Linked DNA regions of Homo sapiens: regions 1, 2, 4 and 5 are each linked to region 3. The links are contacts of gene promoters, found by promoter capture Hi-C in blood cells and fetal thymus (Javierre and others, 2016). All regions are on one chromosome and are shown on one strand. The core of a region is centred on a gene start or on the middle of the fragment in contact, and the rest is flanking DNA. Distances in the headings are between cores, read along the strand shown.

Region 1 (2,725 bases), core at 65-2,564, 1.7 Mb after region 3:
TAAGAACTATGTCCAAGCAAGGATTACTAGTTACATTTTCTCTGACAGTCCTGTCTCATCTTGGGTAGATACTTGTCAGCCTTTTTCTTAAGTTCTTTTTCTTGCCCTTAGGTGTTTTTTAGAGCTTTGTATCACTGTGGGAAGGATTACATATAAAAGAAATGTATGTAAATAATGGGAAAGTATTGTTTTTCATAGTTCTTATCTTTAGGTTTAATGCTCTTTGCACCCAGGTTCGTCTTTAGCCAAGTTCTAAGAGCGCTTGCTCTGGAGTGGCTTTACAGGGAGACTTCCTTGCTTCCCTAGGAAGGAGAAAATAATAGGAGCCTCTTGACAGGGTTGATTTGAGAAGTCAGCGCGATCATACATTGTACAGTGCTTAGTAGTCCCTGACACAGAGTTTGAAAGTAAGTATCATTGGTAGTAATATTGTCATGTGTTGCTGCATGCACCTATGTGGTAAGTATCTAAGGTTATATAAGTTAGTCAAGCTTTTACATAGTTGAGTGGGCTTGAATGAGAAAGTAAAGACCCTCTATTTCTAATTCATTTATACCACTAAACAAAACTCATTCAGTTCTTTATTTCAGATGGAACTAGAAGCATTACGCTCTATTTATGAAGGAGATGAAAGTTTCCGGGAATTAAGTCCAGTTTCTTTTCAATATAGGGTAAGACATGGCATGAATAAGAGCACTTAGAACTTTTCTAGAAAAGACTGAAAGTGGCTAAAAATGCTTATTTTGTTTTTTAAACTTGTTTAAATTTATTATGTCTGTATTTTCTGTAGCATTTAAATGGAAACATCACCCTAACATCAGTCATTTTTAACGTTTGAAAACTTAATTCAGAAGCTTAAAAAACCAAGATAAACTTGTTTTTATTGTACCAGAATCATAAGATACTAGAAATGGAAAAAACCTTAAAAATTATTTAATCTTATCTTTAACATAAAATAGTAACAGTAGGGCTGGGCGCGGTGGCTCTCACCTGTAATCCCAGCACTTTGGGAGGCCAAGGTGGGCGGATCACGAGGTCAGGAGATCGAGACCATCCTGGCCAACATGGTGAAACCCCACTGTCTCTACTAAAAATACAAAAAATTAGCCGGGCATGGTGGCGGGCGCCTGTAGTCCCAGCTACTCGGGAGGCTGAGGCAGGAGAATGGCGTGAACCCGGGAGGCAGAGCTTGCAGTGAGCCGAGATCAAGCCACTGCGACAGAGCGAGACTCTGTCTCAAAAAAAAAATAGTAACAGTATTTTATTTTGTAAATAAGTCATATAAACCTTTTATTCAAATGATTATAAGTAGGCGGGGCACAGTGGCTCACACCTTTAATCCCAGAACTTTGAGAGGCCGAGGCAGGCGGATCACCTCAAGTCTGGAGTTCTAGACCAGCCTGGCCAACAAGGTGAAACCCTGTCTCTACTAAAAATACAAAAATTAGCCACGCATGATGGTGCATGCCTGTAGTCCCAGCTACTTGGGAGGCTGAGGCAGGAGAATCACTTGAACCCAGGAGGCGGAGGTTCCAGTGAGCAGAGATTGTGCCACTGCACTCCAGTCTGGGCGACAGAGCGGGACTCAAAAAAAAAAACAAAAAAAACACACAAATAATTATAAGTAGCGGAATGGGGAAGTTTTTTTTGTAAAAGATTTACAGTTATTATTAACATTGTCACAGTTTAAACTATTAGAAATGATTCTTATGCATGATCGATGGATGACCATCACAGAAAATAAGTTTCTGTTCTCAATTCCCTTTCAAGCTTAACAGTCCTTACACCATCTCCAAGTATGTAATAACCATGGACCTCAAATGTCCAAAGTTAACAGTGGAGCTAAGTCCTAGGCCCTTCGGTTTGAATCCAGTTGCTACTCTCTCCTTAGCAAATGGGAGGTCGAGAATTTCCCTATACTCTCCTAAATATCTCATTCACAATGGCAGTGATTTAGAGCATGTTGTGCAGAATGCCCTAGGACATTTATATGTACTATAAGATGGACACTGACGTGACCCATAGGATGGATTTAAGAAGAATGATACATGAGATTAGGAGACAGTGTGTTGATAGTCAAAGGGCCAGGGGTAAAGTTCTTCCTGTGGCCTGAGTCACACCCCTCAGTTCTTGCACGGAATAGTCTGGTAGCCTCCTAGTTGACTTCCCCGGTTTAATACTTTCTTTAGCTTCCCCCTTATACTCCACCATGAGTCCTCCAACAGTACTAGTTGGCACTCTGAAGCATTTAAGTTGTCATCCCATTCTCTTCTTTAAAAATGTTTTTCTCTGGGTTCCTCTTGCCTATAAAATGAGGACGAAATTTTTTCACTTGACACTCCAAATCCTTCTGTTTGTTTCTGTCTCCAAACTTTCCCCTCCACTCACATGCCTTAGACATAATGGGTTGTGACATTTCCCCCCGTGTATTTTTTTCTAGTACTATGCTTTTGCACACATTGTTTGATCTTTCTCTCACCTCAGGTCCATTATTCCCCTGCCTCTCCTTTAAGGCCTAACTCAGGCCTTCTCTGTGATACATTAATATTTGGGCCATGTCTCCTGTCTCTGCTCTGACTTTGAATCAGAATTAGCCGTTCCCCATTTCTTCATACTTTGTTTTGTTACTTTTGAACTATTATTCATATTGCAGTTTTGTAAGTTATATAAATATCTGTCTGAAGACAGGAATAGCCTTGTCTCTATCTTTGTATCTTCGGTACCC
Region 2 (2,700 bases), core at 1-2,500, 1.9 Mb after region 3:
ATCCGCGACGGTCCGAGCTGCTGATCGCCGTCCTGATCCATTGACTGGGAAAGAGGTTGGAAACATCACCGCAAAACATGCTGCAAACCCCGATTCGGACTCCGCTGGGGCCGAACCAACGCCCCCGCACAGCCCCGACTCCCTCCCCAGCAGCCAGCTCGCCACCGCCCCTCTCGCGACCAGCCATTTTCCAGGCCCGCGGGAACGCGCGCCGCGCCCCTCCCACGCCCCTCGTCAAGCCCGCAGGCCCCGCCCCCGGCGCGGGGGCCCTCCCCGCCACACACGCCCCTCTCTTCCTCTCCCGCGGGGGACCCCTCCCCTCTTAACCATTTTGCCGAAAGAACTGGGCTAGGGCTACAACGCGGGGCGCCCGCGAACTTTCCCGGGGCGAGAGAGCGGAACGGACTGCTCTCCTCCGGGCCGGGGCAGGAGCGCGGAGGAAGGCCCCCTCAGTCCGCCTCCGCGGCCTCTCGCCCCCTCCCCCCGCACGTTCCAAAGCACCCGCACTCCGGGGTGGGGGCGAGTGAGGTGGGGAAGCGCGCCCCGCAGACCAGCGGGAGCCCGGCCGCTCACTCCCTCCGACCCTTGCCCGGCTGCAGTCCCGGGCCGGGGCCGCAGGGTCTGCGGCACGGGGCGGGCCAGCGCCTGAACAAATGCTTGCTGCTTAAAATGGCTGATTCCCCTCAGCGGCAGCTGCAGCCGCTGGGTCTGCAGCGGGGGCTGACAAGCGGCCCCCACCCCCACTCTGGGGACCCCAGAGAAGTACTCGCCCACCGCGGGGCCACGGAGGGCCGCCAACCCGGTCTCCAGTCCTCCCAGTCCCGCTCGGCAGACCCTCGGTGCGCTCGGGGAGACTGTCACGGGAGAAAGGGAAGGTGGCACTCCCCCGGACAGGCTCCCCGCCACCGGCTCCCGAGGCCGGCAGCCCCGCGGCTCCTACCTTGATATTTGTTGTCCAGCTCTCGCAGCACAGACACGTTCCTCTGCATGTCGTGGGGCAGCGACTCCACGCACTCAAGGTAGTCCTGCACGTAGCAGGTGAGCAGCCGGCTCCGCTCCCCGGTCAGGAGCGCGGCCGACGAGTACAGTTGCTGCTGCTGCTGCCCTAACATCCTGCCGATCCGCGCCGTCGCCGCCGCCTCCGCATCCAGCAGCCGCACATGCACCGGCCGCGGCCGCCGCGGGCCCTCAGCTCAGCAGCCCGGCGCCGCGGGGACCCCGCAGCCGCTCGAGAGGGCACGGCCGCGCTCCCCGATCTCCACTCCCCCCAGAGCAGCCCTCACTCCCCGCCCCCGCAGCACCAGCCCAGGGGCGGGGCGAAACCGGGGCTCCCTCCTTTCTCCCCTCCCGCTCCAGGACCGGAGCAGTGGGGATCCCCTCGGCGGGGCCGGCGCCGGGGTCCCGGGCGCTGACACTTCCTGTCCCCCTCGGAGTCCCCAGATGCTACGAGTGCCGTCTCGCAGCCCGGATCCCCATGACAAGCCCGTCGCCGCCCGCCTGTCCCCAGTCACCCTCCGTGCCTCACGGAGAGCCTCCCGCTAGCCTGCCCCCGCCCCTCCGCCCGCGGCCGCCTCTGCGCCTGCGCAGCGCTCCCTGCGAATAAGGCCGGGGCCCGCCCCTACCGCCTACCGGAGGGTTCGCATTCTCCCGCCTTCGCTCCGCCGCCCGGGCGATTGGTCTGCCGGCTCTGGGCTAGCGGGGGAGGGTGTGGGGGGCGGCCAAACGGCAGGCCGCGCCCCGCCCCCCTTAAAGGGGAAGCCCGGGGAGCCAGTCTCTGCGCCTCGCGTCTGAATGGGACCCGGGAGGGGAGGCGGCTCGGTCCTTCGTGCCGTCCTCCCCGCTGGGAGGGGCAGCTCCAGCTCCGCTCGGCTCGCTCCGCCCGGCCACACCGGCTTTTTCCCCATCAGGCGGTCCGAGTGCGGCTCCTCGCGAGCCTGCAAAGGAGCAGCAGGCGGTTCCTTTTCGGACGACCTGGAGCGAGGCCTGCGGGACTGCGCGCCCCGGCGGGCGGCGTGCGGCTCCCGGCATGCGCGGCGGCTGCGTTCCCGCCGCCTCCGAGCTCGCCTGGGGCTGCCGCCCGCCTCCTGCCGGGCCCTCGGGCTCGCCCGGCACCGCGGGGCTTGATCAGGGAGGTAGGCGGTGCTCCCTCCGGCCCCCGGCGTCGTGTGCCCTGCGGGTTTCGTGGCCCTTCCCCTACGCTGGAATCTTCTGTGTCATTTAGGGGGAGGGGATGCGGGACGGCATCTGTTTGACAACGCATTGGTCCCACAGACAGCCTTTAAAAACAACTGCTTTTGGGGGGTGTCAGAACATTTAAGCACAGGACGTCGGTGAGGCTTCCTGGCGGAGTGGGGCACACGCCAGCTTTACGGGACTTTTTGCTCAGTCCTGCCCCAGGACTGCAATCGGAGGGGACCTGGGGCATGGAGGAGACGCGAGTGAAAACCTAGTCAGCGGGCGGGCCCTCGGCCCCATAATCTACGTGATCTCCTAGTGGGGTTTAATTTCGGTGTAGTGTAAATGAGATGTCAGGCAGAGGAGCTGATTTTAATTACAGATGGACATTTTTGAAAGAAATGGGTGCAAATAGAATGAATGCATGGATAATTTTAATGGAATGCCTATGTAAACAAGGCCAATTGTGAGTACTACCTTTGAGTTAAAATGTGAGTGAGTGGTGACAAATTTGGATCTTCTTAG
Region 3 (2,700 bases), core at 165-2,664:
GGGACGGCTGTACACAGCAACAGTTACCTAGTTACCTGCTGGTTGAGGTCAGCGCCCGTTTGCAGCTGCCAGAGAAGAAAGCAAGCAAGGCCGCTTCCTGCGGCTAAGTGGACAGGCGACTGCTTGCAGGGATCCGGGGGTGCGTTGACCGAGGCCCCTGTCTCCAGCAAATGCTTCAGACCATCCACCTGCAGGAAGAGAACAGATCCAGCACCCTTCCCACCTTTGTCCAGTCCCGCGCCCCTCCGGGCTGGAAACCTCCCCGCCCTTCACAACCAGCTCTGACCAGGCAGCGCCCAGTGGTCCGTCCCCGCATTAACGAGAAGACGAATCTAGAAGCTTGAGCCTGCAGGACAAAAGCTCGGGCTCTGTGAGCCCGAATCTCACCTCGGGGTTGCAATCCAGCAACAGCATTTCCCGCCTAAGGCAGATGACAAGAGTCCTTGGAAGTGCAGAGAGGTGAGACACTCGCCGCACCCCGACAGGTAAGAATGCGCAGGCTGGCCCTAGCACGGGAGAATTTAAAGACCGCTGGGACTTCCGGGCCGGCCCTTGGCAGCCGCGCCCCAGCTCCGGTTACGCCCGAGCAGCCTAATCCTCAACGACCCGGACCCTGTCCAGCCCCGCCACGGCCGCACGTACACAAACACTGGCACGTGGAGCCCGGCGCCGGGGGCAGGGGGAGGGGGCGGGCGCGCGAGGCCATCCGCCGATTGGCCAGCTGTGGATGCGTCAGGCCCTCCCACCTCGGGGCGGGGCCCGCGGCGGCCCCACGGAGCCTCAGCGCGCGTGCGCAGGGTAAGTCAGTGGGCGTGAGAGGACTGGAGTAGGAGCGGGTGGGGCTCCGCGGCCGCCATGAGGCGCGCTGAGTTTGACACGTCTCCCGGTAGTGCGCCCGCCCTTTAATCCTTACGGAGAAGCGGGAGTTTCGGCTGCAGGTTTTGGCTCTGCCGGCGCGCACGTAACCAGGAAACTGGGAGCCACGCGCAGCTCCCCGTCGACGCCGCCTTCAGAAGCCGCTGTGCACTGCGCTGCTGCCGCCTCGGCGCCGGGGAACGCAAGTTCCTTTACCTCGCGCGCAGTCGCCCGCCTCCCAACCCGGGAGGTGAAGGCGGGGACGGCGAGCGCGAACTCGAGGGGATGGCTGTCCCGAGTGGCAACGGCCGAGCCCGGCCCGCGCAGGGACCCTTGTGGAGGGGCCCTCGGGGAGAGGCCGCAGCACGCTGGGGTCGTCACGCTGGTCCACGCCGGGCTCTCCTCCCGGGAGAGCGGACCCGGCCGCGTGCGATTCGGACCCGCGGGGCTGGTGAAGCCGCTGTCCGGCCCCGCGGGTGCTGTCGGGCGTGCGTCACTGCTTTTTGTAGAACATGACCTGACTTCCGATGGCAGCTACTGACGTCAGAGCTGCTCCCTAGACTCTCCCTAAGCGTCTTTCCAGAAGGATCTGCTTAGAAACCAAAGCTCCAGCCGAGTGTTTCTTTTCCCCTACATTTTTAGTGATTCCCTTCTGTTGATGCCTTTGAAAGCTCGGAGAAATAAATACGTTTATTGTTATGCTGTTAGAAAACAAGTTCATGCTTGTCCTCTAAAGATAAGTGGTCTTTTCATTCTACTTTTTGTTTTGTAGTAAGAGCCATAAAATTTGCAATCGCAAGTTTATGTTGTTATACTTAGTTACCCAAGGGGTAGTTTTAAGCATTTTTATTCATATGAATATTTGAATATAAATGTGTGTTCAAATATATAGAATCGTTCTTATATTCCACATTTTTAATATTTAAACTATTCACAATATCTTTTAATGATGTTTAAAGAACGGCAGTGTAGAGATACTGTTGTCAGATTTGTGAGGTGAGCACACGTTGATATTGCCAGTTTCGCTTTTGTTTATCAATTCAATAAGCACTGCTTTTTAAAACACGTGTTGAAGCTTCAGGTTTGCACAGAAGTTCATTTTCAGGAATTCCTAACTAATAAAGGGTATCAGACACGTTCTTACAGTTTTGAACATAAATACTGCAGTTAGCATATGTAGTGGGATATTTGTGTGGTGAAAGTGCCTCCATATTTCATATCTTTTCTTTGAAACAAGATTCTGTTCAGTATGCATTAAGTGGTAGTTATTTTTTAACTTCCTGTTACATACGTAAATTTCATAAGGAAAGGAAATTTGGGGAGTCGTTACAGCTTTTCTCCCTTTAATCACAGCGTACCTGTCCATTGCTCACATTGTTTTCAGAAAAAAAAGTTGTATCTCAGCTGGATATCTGACTTGACTTTAGTAATGGGCCTAGAAACTATAAACTGAACAAAGCTTATAATGCACAAAAACAGGATAAGTACATTTGGGGGACAATATCTTACTGGCAAGTAACTGGAGTTTCACCAGGCGTGTAGCAGGTGGGATCAATTTTCTAAAACGGAAGATGATCTAAGATGCATATTTTATAGGCGTTCTCCTAAGCAGTGCTAATTCTACATGTTTTAATTGCTGGTAGATGCGTTTCCAGAACGAGGATGCCATTTACAGCGAGTGTTAAAAAAAACGTTGGATGATGAGTAAGTGACCGAATAGATGAGAGATGTGTGGGCTGAATCTTGAGTAGTAAGAGTTTGCTAAGGAGTCCAGGAAGGGAAGAGTATTTCTAAGAAGTGTAAAATATCTTCCAGTATTGAGAGCACTATATGTAGTTCAGTCTG
Region 4 (3,012 bases), core at 154-2,653, 1.1 Mb after region 3:
GAGGCCAGTAGTGGGGAAGTCACCGGGCTAAGACTCCCAGGACACCAGGTTTGGGTCCCGGCTGTATCATTAACTGGTAGAGTTATTTCCGGTCCAGGGGTCAAAGCCGTAATTTATGTAGCCAAAGGCCTCAAAGATGATTGCTCTCCAGGACGCCTTCCCATTCTCAGAGTCTAGCTCTAGAGTATTTGGGAAGCGGGGTATGTTAGACCCTGGCTTCTGCCATTTTTCCTGGGAGCTTATTCCACAGCCTGGCCTTCTGCGAGTTCAATCATGTGGTTGCCTGGGAGCCTAGTGAGAAGAAAATCCAAGCCCAAGTCCACTTGGAGAACTCCAGCATCATTTTAGTGGGAAGGTGCCATGTCCTCTACATAGGGGCTGGCGGGATGGCAGCTTGTACTGGCGGAAGGGTTCTTGGAAGAGATCCCCAAGGGACACACATTCCTTAAAATGTGACAGGCACAACAAGGGACTCCATTTTAAATCGATCAGATTAAAGATTGTTTTACATTGTGCTCAATGCATGCAGGGTTTGGTTAGATGGGCAAGTTGATGGGAGGTAAACAGGTTGATTTTTGTGTGGGCAGTTTGAAAATATCAAGAGCTTTGAAAATGATGGTTACTTTTTTCTTGAAATTTCCATCACAGAGGCAGAATGTGAGCAAAGATGACTATACAGAGACATTTATTCTGGCTTCCAGTCTGTGGTTAGAAAAACTGGAAGCAACCTAAATGCTTAGCTTTAGGGAAGAGGCTTAAGATGGTGGTAACCAAGGGTTGCTTTTTTTGTTGTTGTTTTGCCATGGATGGAGCCTTTCTTCAGGTGCACTGTTATGTGAAACTCTAATGATGTACAAGGGGATTGATTCAAGTTGGTTGGTAGTGGGGGGTGGTTTCTGTTGCAGCATCTCACCCAGACTGCATGACCCAGCCAGTCCTCAGGCTCCCCAGTGGCAGCTCATGAGGCACTTCCATGGCAAACATACCCCATGACTCAGACAACTGTGGGATGTCAGTATCAGCCTTTCCTTCTGACTGGTGGAAATTTGCACAGCTCTCTCCCTAATTCTTCTGACTTTTCTGTACTTGCCAAATTTTTCATTATGAATATATTACTTATTGCAATAAAATATCTAAGATGTTAAAAATGATGTCAGTTTATTATTTTAGAATTAGAAGTATAATTGTCACAGAAACCACAAAACTTGGGTCAGCCTGGCCAACATATTCTTTCCTTTTTGGCAGATCTTCAGGCTCGTGTGGAAAAACCGATAAAATAGAAAAAGCAATCGGAAGAATATAAAAATCACTGATAATCCCGCCACCTAGAGAAAACTACTGTTAGTATTTTGAGTGTATTTCCCTCCAGCTTTTTTCTATATATGTGTATGTATTTATAATATATAAATAATATACTATATATTAATCAAATACTATATATAATAAATACATTATATATCTTACATAGAACACATTTTATTTATTGTATTATAAACACAGTTTTGTGTCCTGTTTATTTTTGTAAACGTTATATTGTATAGTCCCTAGATATTACCATTTGAAAACATGACATTTAATGGTTTCCTAATATTTAAATCTATTGACAAACATAATTTTATAACCAATATTTCTTCTATAACGGATAGCACAGGATGAACATACCTGTACGTAAATCTTGTCTATATTCGTACTTTTGCCAGTCGCAGTTTCCAAGAACCTATTCATGATGTTAGGTGAGGACTTACTGTACTTGAAAAAAAACCTCCCCAAAAGTAGGTAAGAGACTTTCTTGTAGTCATTTCTCTTGTAGTCATTTGATTGATTAGAAATATATGTAAAATATGGCTTGTTCATCTATTTAGACAATAATTACAAACATACCAAATTAATTTACATTTAAATGTTTTTCATTCGTTTCAAATTGAGCTATGATCTGTGGAATGTCAAGGCGTCTTTTTGCTTTTATTGGCTTGTTATGGACCATCAATATTATGTTGTTAATTAAAGGAAATAACTGGGCTAGGTGTGGTGGCTCACGCCTGTAATCCCAGCACTTTGGGAGGCTGAGGCGGGCAGATCACTTGTGGACAGGAGTTCCAGACCGGCCTGGCCAACATGGTGAAACCCCATCTCTACTAAAAATACAAAAATTAGCCAGGTGTGGTGGCGCACGCCTGTAATCCCAGCTACTTGGGAGGCCAAGGCACGAGAATCAGTTGAACCCAGGAAGCAGAGGCTGCAGTGAGCTGAGATGGTGCTGCTGCACCCAGCACTGGTGACAGAGCAAGACTCCATCTCAAAAAAAAAGTAACTGGTCCTAAGTTTTCTGTGAGCAGCTGTAGTCAAGCAAAGACTGAAAACATTCCATTTTGGAAGGAGAATTAAGATAAAAGCAAGCAAGCAAACGCCCCCTTCCCACCATCCACCCAAATGTATGCAATCTTTTGCTTCACATTTTTGTGTAATGCATGGTGTTTTCAGAATCCTCCTCAGAATCTTGCCTCTCCTATTGCTTTGTGTTATTGAACGCGGACTTGTGCAAGCAGAAGCTCTGCACCTCTTCCTCTGCAGAAGAGGAAAGGAGCTGGGTCCTTTCCTCTTACACACCGGGGCACCTCCTTATTGCCTCACCAACCAGTTTGTTTTACAACTTGCAGGAGAGTATTATTACATCTGAGCACTCAGAAATTAGATGCTGACACTGAGTATTGATTTACATAAAAATCTACATATTTGTGGTTTTTCGAGAGCTACTCACTTGGAACTTTACAAGGTCAGGCATCCCCTGAGCCTAGGACCATGCCTGATACAAAGGGCGTGCTCAACAAAAAGTTGCTGAATTAAAAATCATCTTGGAATGTAAAGGTGACTAGCATTATGGAAATAGTTTATATTGACATGATTATTATTATTTACTTTATTTTTTTTTATTTAGGTGCTCACTCTGTCTCCCAGGCTGTAGTGCAGTGGCGTGATCTCAGCTCATTGCAACCCCCGCCTCCCGGGCTCAAG
Region 5 (2,740 bases), core at 22-2,521, 2.0 Mb after region 3:
TACTGTCCAAGCTGATTATTGTCCAATGATTAACTCACAAGGTGTGGTGACTGAAAGATAAATAAGAACTGAGCTAAGACTTGTTAAATCCAGGCCAGGTACAGTGGCTTACGCCTGTAATCCCAACACTCTGAGAGGCCAAGGCAGGCAGATCAGAGGTCAGGAGTTTGAGACCAGCTTGACCAACATGGTGAAACCCCGTCTTTACTAAAAATACAAAAATTAGCCAGGCATAGTCGTGCGCACCTGTAATCCCAGCTACTCAGGAGGCTGAAGCAGGAGAATTGCTTGAACCCAGGAGGCGGAGATTGCAGTGAGCTGAGATCGCGCCACTGCACTCCAGCCTGGGCAACAGAGTGAGATTGTATCTCAAAAGAAAAAAAAAAAAAGACTTGTTAAATCAAAAAACTAAGATTATGACCACAATAATCCACTTAATTGTTGGGCCCTTTGGGAATTAGGAGCAGGAAGGATAAAAAAAAAATTGTGCTTCTTTGTACCCAGGGCTCCAGTTCATCAATGTGTGATTGCCTTGTAAATGTGAGCAGCCAAGGAAGCAGAAAGGAATGTTCCTGGAGGGATCTAGAAAGCCAGAGGAAAGAACAGCATAGAGCTTAATTTAGTGATCAAAAATATAGACTTGGGAGTCAGACATTCCTGAGTTGGAATTCTGGTTCTGCTAATTACCATCATTGTGTCCATGGGCAAATTATTTCACTTTTCTAAGTCTTCGTTTCCTTACCTGTAAAAGGGGATACCAGCACCTATGAATCATAAGAAATAAACGAGATGATGTCTATAAAGGCACATAGTTTAAATCCAATTAATGAACTTTAGAAACATTTTAGGTTTTATTTGGTAATATTGACAAAGTTTAATAATTGTTTGTTGTTTATGCAGAGAACATTTTTTTTCAAATAAATTCTGAGTATGGTAGGTACAAATCTCTGTCCATAATTTCAAGGTGTGTAAACAAATGTAGCTACAGTATTTTCCTCTGATTAAATTTTTGTTCTTTTCTTTTTTTTTTTTTTTTTTTGAGACAGAGTCTTGCTCTCTCGCTAGCCTGGAGTGCAGTGTCACAATCTCGGCTCACTGCAACCTCTGCCTCCTGGGTTCAAGCAATTCTCCTGCCTCAGCCTCCCTGGTAGCTGGGATTACAAGTGCACACCACCATGCCCGGCTGATTTTTTGTATTTTTAGTAGAGAACAGGGTTTCACCACATTGGCCAGGCTGGTGTCAAACTCCTGAACTCAGGTGATCCACCCACCTCGGCCTCCCAAAGTGCTGGGATTACAGGAGTGAGCCACGGCGCCCGGCCTAAATTTGTTTTCTATTTTAAGGTCCCATCCTACCAAATGGTGGAAACTTAATTTCAGTCACCTGAAGATTTTACTTCCTTCTGTACGAATTTGAGTATCCATTCCAGGGAGCTGACACAGTGCTGAGGCACAAAGGCAGGGTCAGGGACAAGGTGAGGCGCTCCCAGGCATCCCCTGAAATAGCCATCTTCCCACCAGGTTTTGGCCCACAAAGGCCACTGCTGCTTCCTCCTCATCCCTGTAGCAGCGCCTCTTTAGGTCAGGTGACTCTCCCTGCTGTGCTCATGCCCCTCTCAGGCACGGGTGAACATTCCATCGCCTACTGCACTGTGCTGGGGAGCACAGGTTCTCTCTGAGGCCCTCTCAGTCCACTTGCCCACACATGGCACACTGTCATTTCTAGTCTACTCCTCTGTGCCGTGCCAGGGAGAAGGGATGGATGCTCCAGATCTTGCAGCTTCGCTGGCTTCTGCTGGGAATGGGCATGGCCACCTTACTCATGGGTCCCCCAAACCTTTTAAAATTGCCATCATCCTTCCCCACCTCTCTGCTTCCCTTTCTCCCCGCACCACCCGCCCCCCCCCCCCCGCCCCACCCCACCGCCGCGTCCCCGCTGGCCAGTTGCAATTCGGCCTTGGAGGTACAGGTAGGCAGGACAAGGGGCCTCTCTTCTGGGAACCATACCAGCAGTCGAATTCCCTAGCTTCCCTCCTCACCCTTCAAGTTTTCCTTTCCATTGGATAATTTCTTATCTGGATATGAGGTAGCCTGGGTCTTCATTTGTCCTCCGAAACCTGTTATTATGCCCATAAAAGCCAGGGCATTGCTTCTCCTGCCTTCTCTTCTCTGCTGCATCTTGTAAAAGGCAATGGCCATAGAACTCCCACGCCTCGAGCAGAGGCAGAAGCAGGCAGAGGCAGTTTTAAAGGTTAGAGCCGCCCCCGGAATCCCCTGAGGAAATGAGGGAAGGAGCATCCTTAGCCATATCTGCCAAAGCCCCCTTAGGTATTAATACTACAGGCTGATTTTTAATTTTTCATAAGCAATTTCTTTAACCTTATAGAATAGATAGAGCAGCCTTGTGGAAAATTTGCAAGCTAATAAAGAATATGTGGATCAGGCCGGGCACGGTGGGTCACTCCTGTAATCCCAGCACTTTGGGAGGCCGAGGCAGGCGGATCACCTGAGGTCAGGAGTTCAAAACCAGCCTGACCAATACGGTGAAACCCCATCTCTACTAAAAATACAAAAATTAGTGGGTGTGGTGGCATGTGCCTCTAATCCCAGCTACTTGGGAGGCTGAGACAGGAGAATTGCTTGAACCCGGGAGGCGGAGGTAGAGGAGAGCCAAGATCACACCACTGCACTCCAGCCTGGGTGACAGAGCAAGGCTCCATCTAAAACAAAACAAAACAAA

Evidence for each region. Contacts are between HindIII fragments. The CHiCAGO score rates a contact against its expected background, and 5 or more counts as called.
Region 1: a fragment that was not itself captured here is called in contact with the fragment with the promoter of LRP2BP in region 3 in 2 of 17 cell types (monocytes and fetal thymus); the score reaches 6.9 in monocytes.
Region 2: the fragment with the promoter of ING2 here is called in contact with the fragment with the promoter of LRP2BP in region 3 in 6 of 17 cell types (fetal thymus, monocytes, total B cells and 3 more); the score reaches 7.9 in fetal thymus.
Region 4: a fragment that was not itself captured here is called in contact with the fragment with the promoter of LRP2BP in region 3 in 3 of 17 cell types (fetal thymus, total B cells and total CD4 T cells); the score reaches 7.3 in fetal thymus.
Region 5: a contact is called between a fragment that was not itself captured here and the fragment with the promoter of LRP2BP in region 3, in 1 of 17 cell types (non-activated CD4 T cells). The highest score is 7.0, in non-activated CD4 T cells.

The regions. Positions count from the first base shown.
Region 1 is chr4:183,653,827-183,656,551 of GRCh38, reverse strand. It overlaps RWDD4 (RWD domain containing 4), which reads left to right. Exons shown (of 8, transcript NM_152682.4): 2 at 591-671. Among named protein-coding and RNA genes, the nearest start is that of RWDD4, 4.0 kb to the left of the region's middle. The HindIII fragment of the contact is 916 bases long and covers 857-1,772 here.
Region 2 is chr4:183,503,608-183,506,307 of GRCh38, reverse strand. It overlaps ING2 (inhibitor of growth family member 2), which reads right to left and starts at 1,250. Exons shown (of 2, transcript NM_001564.4): 1 at 941-1,250. The coding sequence starts at 1,112. ING2-DT (ING2 divergent transcript) reads left to right here and starts at 1,793. Exons shown (of 3, transcript NR_033995.2): 1 at 1,793-2,132. RefSeq lists silencers at 189-908, 1,129-2,168. The HindIII fragment of the contact is 10,965 bases long and covers 1-2,700 here.
Region 3 is chr4:185,394,638-185,397,337 of GRCh38, reverse strand. LRP2BP (LRP2 binding protein) reads left to right here and starts at 1,414. Exons shown (of 9, transcript NM_001377440.1): 1 at 1,414-2,559. It overlaps ANKRD37 (ankyrin repeat domain 37), which reads right to left and starts at 497. Exons shown (of 5, transcript NM_181726.4): 1 at 388-497; 2 at 36-188. The coding sequence starts at 414. RefSeq lists silencers at 512-881, 1,102-1,291 and an enhancer at 912-981. The HindIII fragment of the contact is 1,591 bases long and covers 342-1,932 here.
Region 4 is chr4:184,261,039-184,264,050 of GRCh38, reverse strand. It overlaps LOC105377582 (a long non-coding RNA gene), which reads left to right. Exons shown (of 6, transcript XR_939552.3): 6 at 1,246-1,422. Among named protein-coding and RNA genes, the nearest start is that of ENPP6, 45 kb to the right of the region's middle. The HindIII fragment of the contact is 3,740 bases long and covers 1-3,012 here.
Region 5 is chr4:183,435,498-183,438,237 of GRCh38, reverse strand. No RefSeq gene overlaps it. Among named protein-coding and RNA genes, the nearest start is that of CDKN2AIP, 7.8 kb to the left of the region's middle. RefSeq lists an enhancer at 1-241. The HindIII fragment of the contact is 8,424 bases long and covers 1-2,740 here.